Linked DNA regions of Homo sapiens: all the other regions are linked to region 3. Evidence: promoter capture Hi-C in human tissues and cell types (Jung and others, 2019). All regions are on one chromosome and are shown on one strand. The core of a region is centred on a gene start or on the middle of the fragment in contact, and the rest is flanking DNA. Distances in the headings are between cores, read along the strand shown.

Region 1 (2,700 bases), core at 201-2,700, 63 kb before region 3:
GTATTTTTAGGAGAGATGGGGTTTTGCCATGTTGGCCAGGCTGGTCTTGAACTCCTGACTTCAGGTGATACCCCTGCCTTGGCCTCTCAAAGTGCTGAGATTACAGGTGTGAGCCACTGCACCCGGCCTCACTGCCTTTTTAAAAGCATGTGGACCTCACTACCACCCAAAAGATAGAGCCAAACAAAACTCAACCCTGGGCCTCTTCTGGCCCAGTAACTTGCTGGGTTTCCATTCGTTCCTGTTTCATCTACTTGACTGTTACAATTAAGTCCCAAGTTGCTAGTCTCTATTTTAAAACTTTTCTTGGCTTCATCTGGTTAATGTACACCAGTAACTTTTTTCCGTATGCCCTTCAATTTCTTCAACTTGCACCAAATATCCACTCTCTTATCTGGTTGCTACAAGCACTTTCCCTTTTTATACCACTCTTTATAAATTAACATATCTTACCCTAAAGACCTCTTCCTGGGGTGCCTTTCCCAGCATTACCTTCCCTTTAAAAAGTGTACATTTAGATATCCATATACTTAAAGGTGGAAGTTTTAGCCACAAAAGGCCAGGGATGGATCAAAGGGAGCATTTTAACAAAGGTAAGTGTGACGTTCTCTTCAAAAGCCAACTATCTGGGGATAAAATTAAAAAGACACAAGTAAATAATACATGAAAAAAAGACTGGATGGAATTTGACTAAAAGCTTAACAGTATGAAAAAACTGCCAAAATAAGTCAATGTAAGCTTAAGAAATAGTGTCTAGAATGAGAGATACTGAGAGATCCCACTGTATTATAAAGTAATTATACTGTATCTGTACTATTATATATGGTTCTCAAGATCACTTTTTAAAACAAATATTGATAAAATAGAACATGTCTAAGTGAAAGTAACCAGAATGATGATAAAGAAATGGAAAATAGTATCAAAATAGTATCAAAAAGAATACTAAAAACATCTGAGGATGTTTCACCTGGAAAGGTTTGAACTTGGGGAGTAAGAGAATAAGAGCAGGAGGCATAAAAAAACTTCAAATATACACATGGCTAACAAGCAGGAAAGGAACTGGATTTATTCCATAAAGCTCAAGAGAAAGCTACAATAAGAACTTTTTTTTTTTTTTTTTGAGACAGATTCTCACTCTGTCACCAGGCTGGAGTGCAGTGGTGCAATCTCAGCTTACTGCAACCTCTACCTCCCGGGTTCAAGCAATTCTCCTGCCTCACCCTCCTGAGTAGCTAGGACTAGAGGCATGCGCCACCACACCCAGCTAATTTTTGTATTTTTAGTAGAGATGGGGTTTCACCATATTGGCCAGGATGGGCTCAATCTCTTGACCTCGTGATCTACCCGCCTCGGCCTCCCAAAGTGCTAGGATTACAAGCATGAGCCACTGTGCCCGGCCTAAAGCAAGAAGCTCACTGCCACCTCAGCCTCCTGGGTTCAAGCAATTCTTCTACCTCAACCTCCCAAGTAGCTGGGATTACAGGCTAATTTTTGTTTTTTTGTTGTTGTTTGTTTGTTTTTGAGAGAGTCTCACTCTGTCACCCAGGCTGGAGTGCAGTGGTACGATCTCGGGTCACTGCAATCTCTGCCTCCCAGGTTCAAGCTAATCTCATGCCTCAGCCACCCAAGTAGCTGGGATTACAGGCACACGCCACCACACCTGGCTAATTTTTTGTATTTTTAGTAGAGATGGGGTTTCGCCATGTTGCCCAGGCTGGTCTCGAACTCCTGCGCTCAGGCAATCTGCCTGCCTCAGCCTCCCAAAGCGCTAGGATTACAGACGTGAGCCACCGTGGCTGGTCTAAATTTTTGTATTTTTAGTAGGGACGAGGTTTCACCATGTTAGTCAGGCTGGTCTCAAACTCCTGACCTCAGGTGATCCACCCGCCTCAGCCTCTGAAAGTGCTAGGATTACAGGCGTGAGTCACCGCGCCCGGCCTGAAGCAAGAAGTTATAAGGTTTTTATCTTCATCTCAGAACAAAATCTAATAAGAGGTTTCATTTTTGTTTTTTGAGATGGAGCTTCTCTGTTGTCCAGGCTGGGGTGCAGTGGTGCAATCTTGGCTCACTGCAACCTCTGCCTCCTGGGTTCAAGCCATTCTCCTGCCTCAGCCTCCCGAGTAGCTGGGATTACAGGCACACACCACCACGCCCGGCTAATTTTTGTATTTTTAGTAGAGATGGGGTTTCACCACGTTGGCCAGCTTGGTCTCAAACTCTCAACCTCAGGTGATCCACCTGCCTTGGCCTCCCAAAGTGCTGGGATTACAGGCGTGAGCCACTGTGCCCGGCCTTTTTTTTTTTTTTTTTTTTTAATTTTTTTTGAGACAGGGTCTCACTCTGTCACCCAGGCTGCAGTACAATCGCACAATCACGGCTCACACAGCCTCGACCTCCTTGGCTCAGGTGAACAGGTGATCCTCCCACCTGTCTCCTGAGTAGCTAGGACTCCTGAGTAGCTAGGACTATAGGCATGCACCACCACACCTGGCTAATTTTTGTATTTTTTGTAGACATGGTGTTTCACTGTGTTGCCCAGGCTGGTCTCAAACTCCAGGGCTCAAGCGATCCACCCACTTCGGCTTCCCAAAATGTTAGGATTATGGGTGTGAGCCACTGTGCCTGGCCAATAAGAGCTATTTTTTTTTTTAAACGTAACTGGTTGCTTTGTGAGGTAGTAAGCTTCCCATCTTTGGAAGT
Region 2 (2,700 bases), core at 165-2,664, 54 kb after region 3:
CTTTCTGTTTTTGTTTTGAGACAGCGTCTCAATCTGTTGCCCAGGCTGGAGTGCAGTGGCGTGATCTCTGCTCACTGCAACCTCCACCTCCCGGGTTCAAGTGATTCTCGTGCCTCAGCGTCCCAAGTAGCTGGGACTACAGGCGCATGCCACCATGCCCAGCTAATTTTTGTATTTTTAGTAGAGATGATGTTTCACCGTGTTGGCCAGGCTGGTCTTGAACTACTGATATCAAGAGATCCGCCTGCCTTGGCCTCCCAAAGTGCTGGGATTACAGGCGTGAGCCACAGCACCTGATCCAAGAAACAGCTCTTTCAATGTCTAGACGAGACTTGTCTTTTCCACGTGCCCTGGATTTTCAGCTAAGGGGTCGAACTAGAGTTGCGTTTGAGTAACAATGACCACACCTCATTCTGATGACCAAGGCACTGGCTCTTGAAAAAGGCTATCATGCTTGGCTCCTTATTTCTCTAGAAGGAAGACTCTCAAATGAAGTGCCCAGCCTTCCTGCCAATAAACTTCCTTAGACCCATCCCACCAGCTAGCCAGACACACCTAGCCATACCTGAGTCATCTTCAACAGACAAGATGAGAGCTCTGATCCAACCCTGTGCAGCCATGTGCTATCTTAAAGGTTTTTCATGTTTGTAAACTTTATTTATCCTATAGGATCATAAGACACTTGAGATCCGAGGCCATGTTTTCCACTTCTTTTATATCTGTAACATTAGTGTAGCCCCAGAACTATCCTACCGTGAAGCAAAACAAACCTAAGTAACCCTTTATAATTTAAAAAGTACTTTTGTAAGTATTGTCTCATTTAGTTTTTATAACAACTTTATTAGTTAGGTTATTATTATCTTCACCTTGCAGATGAGATCATTCAAGCTGTCCAAGGTCACCAACCACTTGGTTGCGGAGCTGAGCCTTGAATCACCATTAACTCACTCAATGTTCAGGTCTCTTTCCATTACTCCACTGCTGTCAGCTTCAGGAACCAGCTATAATGCTTATACTCTAAAGCTAGCTGCTACCTTCCCTCTCTTCCCTCCTCATCTCCCAGATCTCAGCAGGAAATGTGAAAGACGACTGAGAACAATTCATTTTTATTTCTTTTCTTTTTTTTTTTTTTAAGACGGAGTCTCACTCTGCTGCCCAGGCTGGAGAGCAATGGCATGATCTCTGCTCATTGCAACCTCTACCTCCTGGGTTCAACAATTCTCCTGCCTCAGCCTCCCCAGTAGCTGGGATTATAGGTGCCCACCACCATGCCCAGCCAATTTTTATATTTTTAGTGGAGACGGGGTTTTGCCATTTTGGCCAGGCTGCTCTCGAACTCCTGACCTCAGGTGATCCACCTGCCGTGGCCTCCCAAAGTGCTGGGATTACAGGCATAAGCCACTGCGCCCAGCCAATTCATTTTTATTTCATCCTCATTCTTTCCTTTTTCAACTTGCCCTCTTGTATGTGGTGCCTTTTCCTGCTTGTACCTGAGATTGTCTTATGGTCTAAATATTTGTGACATCCCATGCCACCCAAAATTCATATATTGAAGCCTTAACCCTCAATGTAATGGTATAAGGAGATGGGGCTTTTCTTGGAGAGGTACTTAGGTTTAGATGAGGTCTTGAGAGTGGGGCCTTTATGATGTGATTAGTGTCCTTATAAGAAGAAGAGGAGAAACAAGAGCTCTTTTTCTCTGCCATGTGAAGATACAGCAAGATGCCTGTTGAGGGCCATCTGCAAGTCAGCAAGAAGGCCCTCACCAGGTAACTGAATTGGCCAGAACCATGACCTTGGACATCCCAGCTTCCAGAACTGTGAGAAATAAATTCCTGTTGTTTAAGTCCCCCCGTCTGTTGTATTTTGTTTTGGCCACCTCAGCTGACTAAGGCCTTGTTGCCCCTTCTTTTTTTTGCCTTGACTCCCAGATCTTTAGCCTGTCATAGTCAAAAAAAGGAGAGGATTCCTTGTTGCTGCTTTGATCATCTGGTTTCTAGGCATTTTTTTCCCACTTCCTTCTGGAAGGAAACAGTATAAAGGTAAGAGTGCTGAATTCATAAAGAGAAAGTTAGCTGATATAACTTCAGATTCCAACTCTGCTCTTTTTTGTGTGAGCTCAGAGAAGTCCTTTAATATCTGCAGCCTTCAGACTGGTAGTTTCATCTCTCTGAGGCTGTTTTCTCATCTGCAACGTAAAGGGATTGCAAAACATGATCCAGAACCTTTTCAGGTATAAAATGTTCTGGTTTTATTATTTTTATTTATTATCATCCTCATTATTATTATTATTATTTGAGATGGAGTCTCACTGTGTCACCAGGCTGCAGTGCAGTGCTGCCATCTCGGCTCACTGCAACCTCCACCTCTTGGGTTCAGGCAATTCTCCTGCCTCAGCCTCTCAAGTAGCTGGGATTACAGACACACCACCACACCCAGCTAATTTTTTTTGTATTTTTTAGTAGAGACAGGATTTCACCATGTTGGCCAGGCTGGTCTTGAACTCCTGACCTCAGGTGATCCACCTGCCTCTGCCCCCCAAACTGCTGGGGTTACAAGTGTGAGCTACCGCGCCCGGCCATGATTTTATTGTTTTTAATTGACATCCTGGGTTCCTCCTCTCTTGCTTTCAGTCTCTTAGCTACCTAACATCCCTCCTTATCAGCCACCAATTCATGTATTCAGTCTGTCTGTCTTCCT
Region 3 (2,700 bases), core at 123-2,622:
CTGGGGTCTAGACTTCCCACACTAGCTGTGTCTATTTCAACTCAGGGACTCACAGCTGGTGAAGAAACCAAAGAGAAGTCAGGGTGAAGTGGATTTTTCACAGTGGACAAATTCCCCTTCTCTTCCCACCCAACTTGCAGTTGGCCTTATAAAACCTCTGTCACCCTCAATTTACAAGGCCAGCTGGCTCTCCCAGGCAGGAAGAGGGCTGGGAAGCCCTGCATTCATCTCCCTGGGGAGTCTGAGATGTAACTTGCCTGCACAGAGCTTTTCAGTTCTGGGCCAGTCTCATTCCCCTGAGGTTTTCTGGGCAAGCCCAGTAATAAGCCTGTTTCCTCTCCCACCGAGACCCCACAGAGCTGTCAGATTCTGGGGTTTAGGGTAGAGAGCAAGCCATGTGTGCTCAGACCACAACTGATGGAAGAATGGGGGCGGAAGAGAAGATGGGAATGAGCCAACTTCAAAAACTGCCCAGCTGGAGCTTCAGAGAAACATTGGTGGCAAAGGAAGGAGGACTGGTCAAGAGGCTCCAGTGTGGTTCTGGGAACTGGGAACCTAGCAGGACAGCTCGTTCCTGGGGCCTCCCAAAAGGGTAGCGGGGCGGCAGAATCGCCTAGCCCTCGTCGGCTTCCCCACTCGCCTCTGGCCCCTAAGCCCCCAGCCCTCACCCTGTTGCGGGTCACAGTATGGTTGAAGGTGTAGATGTTGACCAGCTCGCTGTTGACCTCGTCCACGTAGGTGCGCTCAAACTCGGCGTCTTTCTGCGAGACGTTCTTGGGCCCCAGAACCCCCAGATGGCTCTCGACCGAGGCCACCAAGAGCACCAAGAAGGGCAAGCCCAGAGCGAACATGGCCCCGGCAGGGCGGCAGTGGCAGCGGTGGTGGCGGCGGCGGCGGCGACAGGAGACAGGACACCTCCGGGACGGGTTGCGGCTGCGGCCGCAGCTTCCAGCATCTCACCAGGACCAGAACTTTAACCCCGGCCTGAGATTAGGAAATGTCCCCTCCCAAGAGCCCCGAAGAGGCTCCCAGGGTCCCCGCAGGGGAGGGGGCGGCCGGGAGGGGGCGGGGAGGGAGGGGATGCTGGCTACGGGAAGGGGTCCCAGCTCGCGAGGGGCTGAGTACGACCTGAGACCCTGGAGCCCCGGGCCAGGGCCGTGAGAAGGAGGGCGGCTGGTTGCCGGGAGCCTGGAGACGCCGGGAAAGGGGAGGGAGGAAGAGCCGGCGGCGGGGGCTGGCCGCGGAGGAAGGCGAGTCGCAGAGTGAGGGGCGTGATAGGTGGTAGCTACCCGACGCCGTGCTGGGCTGCGAGTTTTCCGAGGTGCGGGCCCTTTAAGGGCGGGCGGACGCGCCGTCCCGACGCACGAACACTGAAAAGTGAGCTGCGCCGCTGGGCGATAAACAGCAGGGCTGCTGGCCCGCCCGCTGACGTCAGGGGAAACTGACACAGATTTAAAGGACCAGGTCCCGCATTTGCCCTTAAAGGGGCTGCAGCTGTCTAGCTGAAGGGGAAAGCTTGCAATGCCTTCTCCAACTCCTACCCAACTCTCTCCCGTGATTTTCACCATCTCTGAAACTCACGTTGGAATAGGCAGATGTTTCTGTTAACAATCTCCAAGTGTTGGGTTCTTGCTGAACAACTCTTACATTTGCTCAAACATAAGGATTCCCCCACCCCCACCACCACCTTTACAACTAACATCGTCCAACCCTGGGCCACTTTTTCTCCGGGGATCTTAAAAAATGAAAAACTCGAAGGATTAGGAAACAGGACGGTGGCCCTACCGGCGGAGGGGAAACGGAGGCAGCACTGCAGGAGGAATCCCCATGCCTTTCCCACCTCCCTCTAGAGGGGCCACACAACTGCAGGGACGGCCTTCCGAGCTTTCCAAGCTTGCCGGGCTGTTTCCCCTCTTCTCTCAGAGACAGTTACAAAACTCATTGAAAGATACTGACCTTCAGTGTAAATTGGTGAAAACTTTTCTACAAAATATTTTGGCACTGTTTCAAGAAACTTAGAGAGCTTTATACCCTTTGATCCAGTAATTCCACTTCTGGACTCTATCCTAAGGAAATAGGAAGCACAGATAAAAATACCTGGGCAGCTACGCTTATCACTGTGATATTTATAATATAAAGCAAAAAGGAAATGACTTGGATATCCATAATGAGGGATTGGTTAAATGCACTATCATGAAGGCATCAAAAATGATGCTTAAGACTTCACAGGACACGTAAGCAGAGAATTCAGGATATGACACTAAATAAACAGTATATAGAGCCAGGTGCCGTGGCTCACACGTGTAATCCCAACACTTTGGGAGGCCAAGACAGGTAGATCACTTGAGGTCAGGAGTTCGAGACCAGCCATGGCCAACATGGTGAACCCCATCTCTACTATAAAAATACAAAATTAGTGGGGCGTGGTGACGCGTGCCTGTAATCCCAGCTACTGGGGAGGCTGAAGCAGGAGAATCGCTTAACTCTACCAGGCGGAGGTTGCAGTGAGCTGAGATCATGCTCCTGCACTCCAGCCTGGGCTGCAACAGAGCAAGACTCTGTCTCAAAAATAAATAAGTAAATAAAACCGTATATATTCCAAATGCATATAGACATGCATAGAAAAATAGAAAAAAATTGTACTAAACATTTAGCAATGTCTCCAGAAAGCAGGGCAAATTTTAAAAATAAAATTTAGCA

The links. Contacts are between HindIII fragments. The study calls those that stand out against the background at their distance.
Region 1: a contact is called between a fragment that was not itself captured here and the fragment with the promoter of SIDT2 in region 3, in 1 of the 25 tissues and cell types used here (liver).
Region 2: a fragment that was not itself captured here is called in contact with the fragment with the promoter of SIDT2 in region 3 in 1 of the 25 tissues and cell types used here (liver).

What each region holds. Positions count from the first base shown.
Region 1 is chr11:117,239,999-117,242,698 of GRCh38, reverse strand. The region is part of intron 4 of RNF214 (ring finger protein 214); the gene reads right to left. Among named protein-coding and RNA genes, the nearest start is that of RNF214, 8.7 kb to the right of the region's middle. The HindIII fragment of the contact is 3,395 bases long and covers 1-2,700 here.
Region 2 is chr11:117,123,495-117,126,194 of GRCh38, reverse strand. It overlaps the pseudogene LOC101060089. Among named protein-coding and RNA genes, the nearest start is that of PAFAH1B2, 19 kb to the left of the region's middle. The HindIII fragment of the contact is 5,925 bases long and covers 1-2,700 here.
Region 3 is chr11:117,177,415-117,180,114 of GRCh38, reverse strand. SIDT2 (SID1 transmembrane family member 2) reads right to left here and starts at 1,372. Exons shown (of 26, transcript NM_001040455.2): 1 at 669-1,372. The coding sequence starts at 851. It also overlaps a transcript of PAFAH1B2 not described here. RefSeq lists an enhancer at 14-83 and a silencer at 1,064-1,273. The HindIII fragment of the contact is 11,732 bases long and covers 1-1,704 here.